Regions from separate parts of the Homo sapiens genome. Here all the other regions are linked to region 3. Evidence: promoter capture Hi-C in 16 types of primary human blood cells and fetal thymus (Javierre and others, 2016). All regions are on one chromosome and are shown on one strand. Each heading gives the region's core, a stretch centred on a gene start or on the middle of the fragment in contact. The rest is flanking DNA. Distances are from core to core; before and after follow the strand shown.

Evidence for each region. The method cuts DNA at HindIII sites, captures the fragments that hold promoters and counts their contacts. A CHiCAGO score of 5 or more calls a contact.
Region 1: a fragment that was not itself captured here is called in contact with the fragment with the promoter of DIO2-AS1 in region 3 in 1 of 17 cell types (endothelial precursors); the score reaches 6.1 in endothelial precursors.
Region 2: a contact is called between a fragment that was not itself captured here and the fragment with the promoter of DIO2-AS1 in region 3, in 1 of 17 cell types (endothelial precursors). The highest score is 8.4, in endothelial precursors.
Region 4: a contact is called between a fragment that was not itself captured here and the fragment with the promoter of DIO2-AS1 in region 3, in 1 of 17 cell types (endothelial precursors). The highest score is 7.2, in endothelial precursors.

What each region holds. Positions count from the first base shown.
Region 1 is chr14:79,004,015-79,007,542 of GRCh38, forward strand. The region is part of intron 15 of NRXN3 (neurexin 3); the gene reads left to right. Among named protein-coding and RNA genes, the nearest start is that of NRXN3-AS1, 70 kb to the right of the region's middle. The HindIII fragment of the contact is 767 bases long and covers 1,371-2,137 here.
Region 2 is chr14:78,964,109-78,967,268 of GRCh38, forward strand. NRXN3 (neurexin 3) reads left to right here. Exons shown (of 21, transcript NM_001330195.2): 12 at 1,917-2,298; 13 at 3,100-3,160. Among named protein-coding and RNA genes, the nearest start is that of NRXN3-AS1, 110 kb to the right of the region's middle. The HindIII fragment of the contact is 1,569 bases long and covers 996-2,564 here.
Region 3 is chr14:80,209,610-80,212,760 of GRCh38, forward strand. DIO2-AS1 (DIO2 antisense RNA 1) reads left to right here and starts at 1,810. Exons shown (of 9, transcript NR_038355.1): 1 at 1,810-1,879. It overlaps DIO2 (iodothyronine deiodinase 2), which reads right to left and starts at 1,895. Exons shown (of 2, transcript NM_013989.5): 1 at 1,642-1,895. The coding sequence starts at 1,863. The HindIII fragment of the contact is 6,513 bases long and covers 1-3,151 here.
Region 4 is chr14:78,939,389-78,942,710 of GRCh38, forward strand. All of the region lies in intron 10 of NRXN3 (neurexin 3), which reads left to right. Among named protein-coding and RNA genes, the nearest start is that of NRXN3-AS1, 130 kb to the right of the region's middle. The HindIII fragment of the contact is 1,012 bases long and covers 883-1,894 here.

The DNA.
Region 1 (3,528 bases), core at 504-3,003, 1.2 Mb before region 3:
AACTGGCACTTCTGAGAATAATTATGTAGGGAATTTGCACTTTCATACTCTAGGTGTTTCTGAGAACAAACACATCTTAAGAATTTAGTTAGAATATGTAGATAATAAAGATTTAAACTGATTGCCAAGGGTCCTCACACAGGAATGATTTTTCTTTTATAGTTAATTTATTAATTTGAGTAAAATGTGATTCATTTACTTCTGAGCCTTTGCATGGTGTTCATATAAATAGTGTTGATAATTTCTTTCTTTCTTTTTTTTTAGACTGTATCTCACTTTATCATGCAGTGGCTTGATCTCGGCTCACTGCAAACTCCACCTCCTGGGCTCAAGTGATCCTCTCACCTCAGCCTCCCGAGTAGCTGGGACTACAGGCACATGCCACCATGTCCAGCTACTTTGGCATTTTTGGTAGAGATGAGTTTCACCATATTGCCCAGGCAGGTCTCAAACTCTTGGATGCAAGTGATGTGCCTGCCTTGGCCTCCCAAAGTGCTGGGATTACAGGTGTGAGCTACTCCACCCAGCCAATAGTGTTTGTAATTTCTGATGACAAATATTTCATGCTAAATAAGTAGCCGACCAGGAATGAACAAGTAATTACCAACAGTGGGGCACACTGTTGTTTGATGGTATATGTTTTCCTAACATGAACAAACTCCCTTACAACTTCAACATCTGTGCCTTAACTAAAATCTGGACATGCTGCATTGAGAGAGCATCTCTTGGAAGTCTCCTTTAGTGAAGGATGCTTTTTTCCTAATGTTTTAAATTCCTGGAGTCAGACCTTGATTCTACAATCATTCTTCAGTGATGTTTCTTCTTTTAAGGTCACGTATTTTTTATATGCTGTCGCCCCGTCCTCATCATTAGCATTTATTGACCTTCAGGATGTAAAAAATACTCTGAGTTCTTCCCTTGTAGCCTTCTTCTCACTCCATCCTTTGCATTGTCCTTGGTGACTTAAGTTTTCATGTTGTATTTTTTCCTAATAACCTGATTTCCTCAAATACCTGGCCACGTAGCAAAGGGAGTTTCTATTGCTGGTACTGCTTCCTAAGTTTTCAGTTCTCCCATACCTTAAACCTCCTGACACTACTTTCTGTGTCAATAATCTCAAATGTTTCACTAGCCTCCATGTGGCAGTTGGAGTTTCTAGTCTAGAATACAAATGGTATTCCCACTAATACGCAGGAGCTCTTGCCTCATGACTTGATACACTATCCAAATTCCAAAGACATTCCCTTGCTCGGTTTCTTGGCCCCTGCCTTACAGCTAGAAAAAGTCATGTACTTGGCAATTACTTCCTGTAAATCCATATCCTCTTACCTTAGCAATGCCCTCAGTATGTTCTTTTTTGTGGCCATCTAAGCTTTGTCCCTAAATTGTGACCATTTTCTTTTCTACTCAATAATATCTCATTTTCTACGTTGGTAGTTAGTACTTACTCAGTAGAAGTTATCTGATGAGAGTCTTTCTTCATATTTCTTTGTGTCAAAATGCATTTTTATGTTTAAACATCTCAAACCTCCCTGGCAATTAAGACATTTTGGGACTTTTCTCCAAACATAACATTCCATTTAAGTCTGGGACTCACTTTCATAAACCCATGCACCTGTGGGAAAACTCTCTTCCCCAACGTGCCCTAAACTTTATTGATTTGGGCTTACCTTCCTTACCTTGTTCATCTAGATATGTTCAATGGGCCTTGTACTGAATATTTGTGTGGTGTTTACATGTTTATACATGTTTACCTGTGTGTGACTTTTTTTTTCTAATTTGAACCAGGACTATGTGATTATTTTACTTGTACATTTCTTAGAACAGTGTCGGTCCTCAAAAAAAACGAGTGGGTTTCTTACTCTCTTTCCTTTCTTTCACTAAATATTTCATCATTGTAGCACTGATCTTACACATATTTGTTAATTTTTCTGGCTCATTGTCAACTGTGAGTTCTACAGGGTAGGTACAATGCCTCGTTTATTTTTATATTCCCGGTCTCTGTATCAAACCTACATAGGATTTGCAGGAAATGAGCCACTGGGAGTTTTTGAGCAAGTGTGTGATATGCCCAAAGATATGCCTTAGAAAGATTCCTCCTGGCAGAGTGTGAGAAGCAGGTTGAGAGAAAATAGTAAGCTTTGTTGAGAGAAGATTGTAAGCCTTTCTGAGAGCAGACAACACGTGGCTGCATAAACAGACCCTAGTGCAATGTCTGATATATAGTGCAGATTCAATGAATATTTTGGGGAAGAATGAGCAAAATCAAGAAAGCTATTAGGAGGCTCTTGAAAATAGGTGTGGTAAATGGCAAAAAACAAACAAACAAACAAACAAACAAAAACCCCAAAAGCATGAACTAAAGTGTCAGTACTGGTAATTTTAGGGTTAGCCTCAACTTTAAAAATAGAATATAAGCTGCTACATACACATGGGCACAGCCAATTATAGTAGTCAAAGTATAGTAGTCAAAGAACTGGTGAAATGGCAAACATTTAAGAAATTTACTCCATTTTTAACTTTATAAGATTTGATTATTATTCCTTTATAGCCTTAGCTTTTTTTTTGTTTTTACAATTAAAGATGTTTTTAAGTTAAAATAATCCACTTATATTAGAGCCTCTTTTTCTATTATCCAGACAGCACATATTATTCTATCCATTAAAAAATGTGACCATTAAAAATGGCTAGAATAGCTTAATAATATAATATCATATTTATTCTATGATTTCCAGTGGAATGAACTGTTATGGTCTCCCTGATTGATTATAATTTTAATAAACTTGGTTGTGTGTGGCTAGGAACAAGTTCATTCCAAGTTCATTTTTTCCCTGATGTAGATAAAATTCCATCAGCTAAGTTCTGCTACTGTGCCCCATCTCCAGACTTCTAGCTAAATGAAGTACTACAGGGCTCTGATTCTTGCTCAAACTCACTACTGCTAAACTGAAATGCTTGAGGTATTCAAAACTGTTATTTTCTGCGTCAATTTGATATATGTGCAGCATTTCTTTTTTAAAAGGACATGTTCTGAATGTTTAGAGTGTGTAGATAACCACTCCCACCCCCCAACACACTCACGTAACAGAAGAAACTTTGGATACTTTTATTGTGTAAACTTACAGAATTTGTGTCAAAGAAGTTCATGTGGCAAAGACATCAGGTGTATCAAATATTTTGGTGGTTTTGTTTAAATTCAGAGTGAGAATTAACCAAGCATCTACAATACGTACACCTGCTCTGTATTCTAACCCTTTTGTTCATGGCATGCACATTAAAACACGTAGCTCCACTTCGCTGCATTGTTGATTGCAGTTGATGATGAGGGTTGTCGTTTCTGTCAACTTTTAGTATTGAAGAGAAGCCTCATGTGTAGTGATGTTAGGGACAGTTCAGCCATGTTACATACCTAGAATTGTCTCTGAAAAAAAAAAGTCATGAACTTTTTTTTTTTAAAGGCAATAGAAAGCAATCAACCAACCAAACAAACAAACAAAAAAAAACAAAAAGTCTGGGCGTGGTGGCTCA
Region 2 (3,160 bases), core at 530-3,029, 1.2 Mb before region 3:
AAACCAATATTGAGCACTTAAGGGTATGATCTGGTTTAGTCTCCCAGATACTGAAGTTTAAGAGACCTAAGAAAATACAATCCTCCCTTTTTTTGTCACTGTAATTCTGAGCCAATAGAGAAAATATTGCAATGAGGATGGAAGGCAAATATCATTTTAATTAGTAATAACACACAATAATATTGCTTACACCCACTGAACTTCAGAATTAGACAGAACTGCCCACTTGAATAGTAGTTCAGAACTGGGCAGACATCCTTTGTGGAAGCAAGGCTTGCTCCTGTAACACCCATTCTATGGATGCATGCAGTAGAATGGACATTTCTGAAGGCAGCTTGCTCCAGCAAAGAGAAACAGGAGGTGTTAGGGGCTGAGCTAAGCATACACAGCTTCTCTTTGCAGATCATCCTTAATATTTCTGATTATGTCACTTCTTCAGGAAAGTTGTTAAAGAGGAAATAAAGAGATGCTATCAGTCTTGCTAATGGAGTTTTTTCAATGTAGAAGGTAACAAGAGAGGACAGGAAGAAAGAATTCCCCCTCTAATGCTTGGCAGTAGAACATGGTTTGTTATGTTTTAACATGATTTTTCTATATAAATGTTGAGGAAGCCAATTTCTACTCTGGCCACATTAATGATGTTTTTCTTTATTTTGTTATTAAAATTTCCAGTCTCTTTGTATTTTTTTTTCAAGCCCTCCTTATCCCCTCTGCCCTAGTCACTCACCACTTCTAGGTAAAATAGGTAATACAAGTTCTAAATAGTTCATTTGTAACAGCTGAAGATATTTCCGTTGTGAATGTCAGAAACCCAACTCAAACGCTTTAAGCATGAAAGGGAGTCTATTGCCACACAGTTTGAAAAAGCCGGGAGGTGCCTGGCTTGATCCAGAGTCTCAAAGGACAGCACAGATGATTCTCTTCATTTGGTAATTGTCTTCTGGGTTGCTAGTCCTCTGATCCCTCTGATTTTCTTATAGCCTCTAGGGACTCAAAGCTTTCTTCTTACCCCTCCAGCAGTCCTTGCTTGCAAAGAATCCTCTTTCCTAAGTGTACCAGCAAGAGCTCTGGAACTGAGTGTGGCCGGGATGGCTTGGGTTGTTGCCAGTTCTAAGGGTGGTCCCTAAATCAGCCACAAGAGCATCACTGTGAAACTTGTTAGAAATGCAGATTCTCAGGCCTCACCCCAGACTTTTGAATTCTAAACTCTGAGGGCCTAAGCCCCCCAGGTGATTCTGATACACCCTAAAGTGTAATGACCGCTTTTTAAGTCTGTAGTCCAAAGTCTGTGACAGTTAGGGGGGTAAAGTACATTGAGTGGTCTAGGCTGAGTAGCTTGATTAGGGTCAACTTTATCCAGTCCAGGTGGTTGAAAGGTCAAGAGGGGTGGGTAGCTTCCTAAAGAAAAATTACGTGTTATTATAAGATAAAGTAACAGTTGCTGGGCAGGTAAACTCAACTGATAAGTCTATAATAGAATCCTTCCCACGAGTACTAAGTGGAGAGTTATTACGAGAAAAAATACTTGGTAGTGATGCCCAAGACTTGTGTGTTGTGTCTTTACAAGGGTCAGAGCAACAAAGGCCTTTCTTCTTATAGTGTGTATTAGTGTCCAGTGATTCTCCTGAATGGAGAATATCAATAGTTTTATCCTTTAGCCTGGGTTACTCATGACCTCATATTTCCCCTTATATGATGAGCCGTGCTGAGCAGCTGCGTGACAGCATGTAATTTGGGCAATGCCTGATTGAGGCCAAGTAAGGTATCTACCATATTGAATATTTGGTTTTCTTGAACTCACCCAAGAAAGCTGAATATTCTGTGTGGAAACAGGTTACACCCAAAAAATATACTTGAGGGTGCTGTGATAAATGATGGTAACTTTTCTGTTTGTACCTCATTTACAATTTTCACAGGTACAATGGTGGGAGACCATACCCGTTTGGAGTTCCACAACATTGAAACGGGAATCATGACTGAGAAACGCTACATCTCCGTTGTCCCCTCCAGCTTTATTGGCCATCTGCAGAGCCTCATGTTTAATGGCCTTCTCTACATTGACTTGTGCAAAAATGGTGACATTGATTATTGTGAGCTGAAGGCTCGTTTTGGACTGAGGAACATCATCGCTGACCCTGTCACCTTTAAGACCAAGAGCAGCTACCTGAGCCTTGCCACTCTTCAGGCTTACACCTCCATGCACCTCTTCTTCCAGTTCAAGACCACCTCACCAGATGGCTTCATTCTCTTCAATAGTGGTGATGGCAATGACTTCATTGCAGTCGAGCTTGTCAAGGGGTAAGTAGAAGGGATCACGACTTATGTTGGACACCTTTAATCTACTGAAGCTCTACGTAAAATATGGACATAAAAATAACTTGTCTATTCTACTCCCTACCCTCCATTCCTGACACATTCTCGCATCTTCCTTGATTAAATGGATCCATAAAATTATTAGGTCTGGAAAGGAGAGAGGCTCATGATTTAATTTAAAGGTCTTCCACTAACTCAACACTAACAGACTTTTTCCTATGAAATGTAGCCCTTTAAAACTATTGAAGAAAAGCTTATTTTTGCAAAAGAGGGCTATGATTTGTATTGCATCTAATTCTTGAGTATTACTAACTACAACCACCCAATTTATACCAAAAGATGAAACATAAATATTTTAAATCCTACCATTAGCCCATATATGCAAGTTTTTAGAAGCTGCCCTTTCCTCAAGACATTTTACTACCATGTATTAGAAAATAGTCAAAACAAAAAACCAAAACAAAAACCAAAACAGATTAATGGTTGATGATGAATTTAAAAGTCACCCCCTTATGTTTTGTAGTGTACAACCTGTGCTACTTTGACTCTGGAGAGTATTAGTAGGTAGTGTTAATGAAGTGGACTCGATGAGTATGGAATTATAGTGAAGCATGATAGAATAAAATCTGACTATTCTTGTAACCTCATATCAAGATTTAAATTATTCCTGCATTATGCCAGTTTAGCATGGGGGATTTGAAGCCCACTATGTCAGTTACACACATATAGCCATTAAACCACTTCGGGGATTTTCCAATTATTGTTTTTTTTTTTTTTTCTTCCTAGGTATATACACTACGTTTTTGACCTCGGAAACGGTCCCAATGTGATCAAAGGCAACAGTGAC
Region 3 (3,151 bases), core at 560-3,059:
AATTCAATATCTACTTTTCTAGATCTCCCGTCCTCACTGACATGCACAATATAAATGAGTTTTTACTGTTAGAACTTTGAGCACCAATTCATATTCTCATAAAAGAATTTCCATCTACTAATAAGAGCTCTTACTATTCACATTTTTAACAACAATAAACACAAACCCTCTTTGGGTTACTATCAATAATAAAGACGTGCATTGTGGTAAAATTTCCCTAGTTCACAACAGATATTTTCTTCTTGAACATCTGATTTTCAGAAGAACAATCCTGTCCTGAATTCTTTGTAATTTTACAAGTTACTTCTTCTCTTTTCTTGGCGCATGGTTTTAGTTTTCTAGTGTTTATTTATGGAGGATGCATTCCCTTGCGTCTCTATTATTTCGAGTTCCCCGTCTCTGGTTCTAAGGTGCTGCCTGCCTAAAACACACCACTTCACTGAACACCTGGCTTCTATATTCCTCTAAAATACAGATGTACAGTTGCTTTTTCTGGCATCTTGGGCAAGGTCCCACAACACTTTTAGGGAAACCAAGATTGTCTATTTTGATAACTACTTTTGCCAAAATAGTTCATTCTTCTCAAGCCTGGTTGAGGGGGTGGAGGGGACCTTTAGAAGTCATATGGGCATAGCAGGTGGGGGAAAACTGACAAAAGACCAGGGCGAAAATCATCCTCTGTGCCCCTGAAGATCTTAGTTGAAAATGCTCTACTAACATCTCTCACCAGCAAAAAGCCTGGAACACAGTATTTTTCACTTAGAAACTAAGATCACTACCTCTGATTTTGAGAGAGCAGCCCCTGGGCACTACCTGAGCAGGTAAGGGAGACCACTGCTCTAATGCTCATAACAGCTCTGAGATTTAATGAATCACAGACCCATCATCTCTTTCTAGGGCAACGTATTTTATTTTTGAGAAACAAAGTAAAGGAGGCTTCCCTTACAAATGCTGGATTTCTGACAGCTAGTTTTCAGACTTTTCTTTCGCAAGTTGATATCTAGTAACTCAGGATCACTGCCTGAAAATCGCTTCCAAAGGGTTCAAATTTGAATCAATGTAGAGGAGGTGGCACACAGCTGCTTGCTTTCATTAACTCTTACCTCTACCAGAAACCAAGCAGCTATGATGCCCAATCACAATTTCTATGACCACTTTCTTATCTTGTCAACTCTCTGAGAGTTCTGAGTAGCATTTCTCATTTCTTGCTTTTCAGTACCCACCCCTCGAACATACTTCCTCAGTGTACCTCAGCCTCCCATCAAGCAAAAAATCAAAATTCCAGTTTATGGCAAGAGCAGAATAAATGCAGCAGTCTCCTCTTCTCCATCATTTTCTGACTTTTCCCAAGTTATCGTACCAGCACAATGCCTTCTACTCCCAAATCACAGCAAGATATTAATAACCCTTAGTAGAAAGATTCCTTATTAGGTCACACAGAGTCATTATGGCTTAATAGCTGTCACCCTCCCAAGCTAACCTGTGCAACAGGTGTGGAAAGTAAACTTAGAGGCTCACTTGGCAACCCCACAAATAGGGCTTCACAGCTCTCCCCCCAATGCTCCCAATGGCCTCTGGTCCCCAGCATATGAGCCCCTGCCCCTGTAGACCTAGGGAGAAGCCCTTCTCAGCTCAGCTCACCTGTTTGTAGGCATCGAGGAGGAAGCTCTTCCAGACGCAGCGCAGTCCCTCTGAGGTCAGCATGCGCCGCCACTCTCCGCGAGTGGACTTGGAGCGGCTCAACAGCAGCACCACGTGCTTGAGCAGAATGACCGAGTCATAGAGAGCCAGGAAGAGGCAGTTGGAGAAAAAAACTGGCAGAATTTGCAGTGTGATCAGCAAGTCTACGCTGAGGATGCCCATCTTCTCTGCCTCCTGAGTCAGTTCCCTTGTGCGCTCTGGTTCCCCTTCACCCTCTTATTTAAAAGGGGGGTGGTGATAAAGGGGGTGGGGGAGGTAAGGGGGAAGGTTGGGGGTTGGGGGAGAAGGGGAAAAAAAACTAAATTAAAAGGAAGCCCAAGTTGTCTCCTCTTTCAAAGAAGCAGAAATGGCAAGACTAAGTCCAGTCTCTCCAGCCCAGCAGTTGGAGTGTGCCCATCAATTCATTCAATTCGGAGCTGCTGCCTTTTTTTTTTTTTTTTTTTTTTTTTCAGGATTTAAGATGTTAAAAAAAAAAAAAAAAAAAAAAAAAAAAAGCTGGCGTACTCGTCCCTAATCCAGTTACCTCTGTCAGAGTCCGTTAAAGACAGGCAGTTCTACTTTCATTTCCAAGCACCTATGAGACTGTGGCAGAGATTTTAAAATTTTCTTTAGCCTTTCATTGTCTCTATGCTCTTTAAACGTAGCCTGTTTCTTTCTTGAATTGCCAGAGTTTTTTTTTTTTTTAAATGTGCTTTAAGGGTAGTTTTTTTTTTTTCTTTCTTTACTCCGTTTTACACACACTTTCTGTGCTTCTCTTTCTCCCAGTCTCACTCTCTCCCTTCCCCAGGAGCGACTGACTCCTCTTTTTTCTCACTCTCTGTCTTTCCCTTCTTGCTATCTGTCTGTGGTGCAAAGTGCCTCTCTCTGCAGCCCAGTGAGTCTCCCTGACGCCTTTTATACATTCCCTGGCTAATTGCTGCAATAGAGAAGTGAAAGCCTAATCTTGGTAAAGATCTTGACGTCATTGAGAAAGAGGGCTTTACTTTGGCCAGGATTGCAGTGAATAGAAAAGCAAAACTCGACAACTTTTTTTTTTTAGAAGGGGTTGGGGAGAGACAGTGGAATTTTGCTTTGTGATTTAAAGAGAGAAAAAAACTAATACCCTTGACAGCCTTCAGGAAATGCTTCCAAACTTTGGGAAAAGTAATTTAATATAATGTGCAGATTGATATGGCCAACACTCTCTCTTCTGATTATCATTATCATTAATTTATGAGGGGTTTTGGAAAGAAAGGATCCTGGAAGGCAGGTAGAAAAAAGGAAGAGTTATCACAGGCGGTCTTTGCTCTGTTTCTTGGAAAATATGAACATTTATATACAATCTTTATACCTTTATACCATGACTCCAACCCTTTGTAAGATCTGTGACCTAGGTCCTTTAAATTTTTTTGAGTCATTATCTTATTTAAGAAAATGCAAAATGAGTTGTAGGTGGAAAACTTGTAAACTA
Region 4 (3,322 bases), core at 139-2,638, 1.3 Mb before region 3:
AGAAAGACTACCATATCTCAATCCTTGGTTACACAATGTTCATCTACCTTGGTTCCCTCTCTGCCATATTAGTCTTCCCTGCTGATGAAGTAGTTACAAGAACCAGAGTTGAGATTAAGAAAGGGATACAACAGCTGGGAAACACTGGTCCTGTTACACCATTGCCCTCCTGGGGAGACACAAGGGCAAGTATATCTGGCCATAGCTATCACTTGCCAATTAGCCTGGTGACTAGATATATGTTTTATCTCTATGTATCAACCAGAGCAAATGTGGGGCCAGAATGGGACCAAAATGGATGTCACCAATGGGTTGACCAGTTTAGGGATGAAGGAGTCAACAGAGATTGTCTGAGCTTCATAAATATTTAAGGTTTACTCTGTACTTTCATCCCTTTCTATGGGGAAGTAACTCTCTTATTTCATCCTTTTTATCTTTGTTCAGCACACACGTGCTCTTTTTATTTTCTCTATGTCTCACAGCTCTCAGAGATTATCAATTTGCTCCCTACGCTTTAATCCATTCTATAAGTTCCATCCAACTTTTTGTTGCTTGCTATGACAAAATCGAATAATCTTAAATAATGCAGCAAACACACGTTGCAGCCTGTTTAAGATATTTTAAGAGTTCTTTTTGATCTAGGAGATAAAACACAAAGTTTTCAGTACAGCAGGTTCTTGTAAGCAGGTTCTTAAAATCTCCTCCTGGCTACATCTTTAGACTCATTTCCTACCTCTCATAAAAATGCCCTCCACTACCCTACGACACGGAAGTACTCGACATTTGCTGAACTTGCATGCTCTCTTAATCTCTATACGTGGCAGTTTTTAAAATCTCTTGTCTACCTGGAGCACTAGTTCTGCACATTCATTAAAAAGCATAAGCTTTGCTTTCTCTAACAAGTATTACTTGAACACCACTATCTTCTTAACCCCAAACTCAGACCCAAATGTGCATGTATATATGCACACACACACTCCCAATAGCTTCTCTCTTTCCCTGTGTTCCTTAGGTATAATGCAAAGAACTCATAGTAGTATTAAAGCACTTAAAACATTGTATTACATTTTTATATCACTCTCTACTCCATTAGACTGTAAGTAACTTTGATCCAGGGATCAAAATATATTTCTCCTTTTATCTCCAGCCACTAGTCAATGTCCAGTGTGTTATAAATAAGCAGTAAATATTTGATGAGTTGTTGAGTTAATGAGTAATAACAAATAAATGTTATTGTACAACAAGTTGGCAGATATTTGTTCCTTGAATAGAATGATTTTTATAATTGTCATTTACAAATTCAGTTTAGATGGGATATTTTTCTCTTATTTCTTCCCTTGAACGTTTTCCCCCAACTACCGTGTACTCCCATTACTAGATTTTTTTATAAATCACTTAAATATGTTTTTGTAAATTATTAATAGCAGCAAGTAGTGCTGATCTGTTGGGCACCTAATGTGTATCAAGCTGTGAATTAGAACTTGTCTTCCACTGGTCCCAAGAGAGCTGGATCAGTTCACAACCCTGCATAAATGGTAGCTAGGATTATGATTCAGTAGGAGCATATGTAGCCTCAAGCAGGATAATTAGTTGTAATAAGCACATAACCACATTTTCTCCCTGTTTCTGTGTTAGGGGATGGCAGTCAATTCACACTTTGAATTTCAATGTCCATAAGCTGCATTTAAATACATTCATATAAATGCATGTCAAGTAACTACCATGTCTAGGCCTTGGACTAGATTCTGAAAAAAATAGGCACAATCACTGGCCTCGTGGAGTTCATAGCCAGCATCACCTTAAAATCAATGAGAAGTAGAAAGTCAGGTTATTGAGACCAGGATGATCTACGCTGCATCTAACTGGGGGATATTAAGTTCTCACAGACATTACAAGCTTATCCCAGTCAATATAAGCTCACTGTATAATCAACTACCTCCATATACAAATGTCCCCTCCTCCAGTGGCATGATCTAGGGCTGGCAGGGATTCACCTTTCCTTACCCGTGGTGCTTCTCAAAATTCCCCTGCTGCCTCACCCAGCCACCCCCATTCTCACCCAGTCTAAGTATCAGTTCCAAGAAGCATTTCTAGTTCCTCTACCCCTTTGTTTTCCGCAAACCTTCACATCTGCTCCCTCAGAAGCACCATTGGTTATGGAGGTCTGATCTGAAGTTCTACCCATCACTCACACATTCATCATCCATCCAGAAGGCAGTTTTATATAAACCCAGATAAGCTTGGCTTTGCATCTACTTAGTAGCTATTTACCCTTGGCTGAGATAACTTAACATCCCTGTTTCTTACTGCTGTCATCTGTAAAATGGGATAAAAATGCTTACTTCCCAGTATTCTGGGGATTAAATATTAAGCTCCAGTACAAAGTGTAACAATGACTTTATGCGTCATTATCCCCGCTGGTCTCCCATAGCTGTTCTCTAGCACCCCTGTGCCATCTTTGGGATTGTCGAGTTAGCCCTGAAGTGGCAAGGACCCTATTTCAGTGCTCATATTTAAAAAGCACCACCATCAGCAAAAGGGGTGTAGAGAGGAGGCACCATTTAGAATCTTGGAAAATCTGAAAAAACTTGCTTCTAGGCCAGAGAGTAGAGAGAACTGTGAGATTGTGTGCTAGCCACAGTAGACCAATGTTGGATTGGAGATGATAGGTCGTCTTAATGGAAAGTGTGATGGGGAGCCAATGTGGCACAGTAGCTCAGAGTGTGGGCTCTGGAGCCAACATAAGAAGAGTTACCCTAACAGAATATAGACCACAGAGTTCTTCCCTTCAAGTATGGATTCATCATACATCCTTCAAACCTGCCAAGTACTTCACTTTCTTTCTCTCTACCAACCTGCTTCTTACCAACCTTCTAAAGTCCTGTTCTTGATTCACCCTAGGCTCACCTATAACCTTCAGAAGCCCTGTCTCTGACTCTTAACTCTTCCTGTCTTAACACTGAGCCTCTACTTTCAGCTTTGGGAGCCACAATGAGTGTTTCAGAGCTGAAGAATATCTGGAGCCCATATGTCAGACATGAAAGATTTGGAAAAACAGAAATAAAAAAGTTCCTTGAAGTATTTGAAATGATTTATTCAAGTAGGGTTGGGACCTAAAAATTTGCCAAATATATCATAATGGGGGAGTAGTACCAGGAACGTAGAGAAAGGAAGAGAAAAATTGATCTCATAGAAATAAAACGTAGAACAGAGGATACTAGAGGCTGAAAACAGGAGGGGGAAAATGGGAGACACAGAGAGATTTGATAAAAGACACAAAATTACAGCTAGATAGAAAAAATAAGTGCTAGTGTTCCAGAGA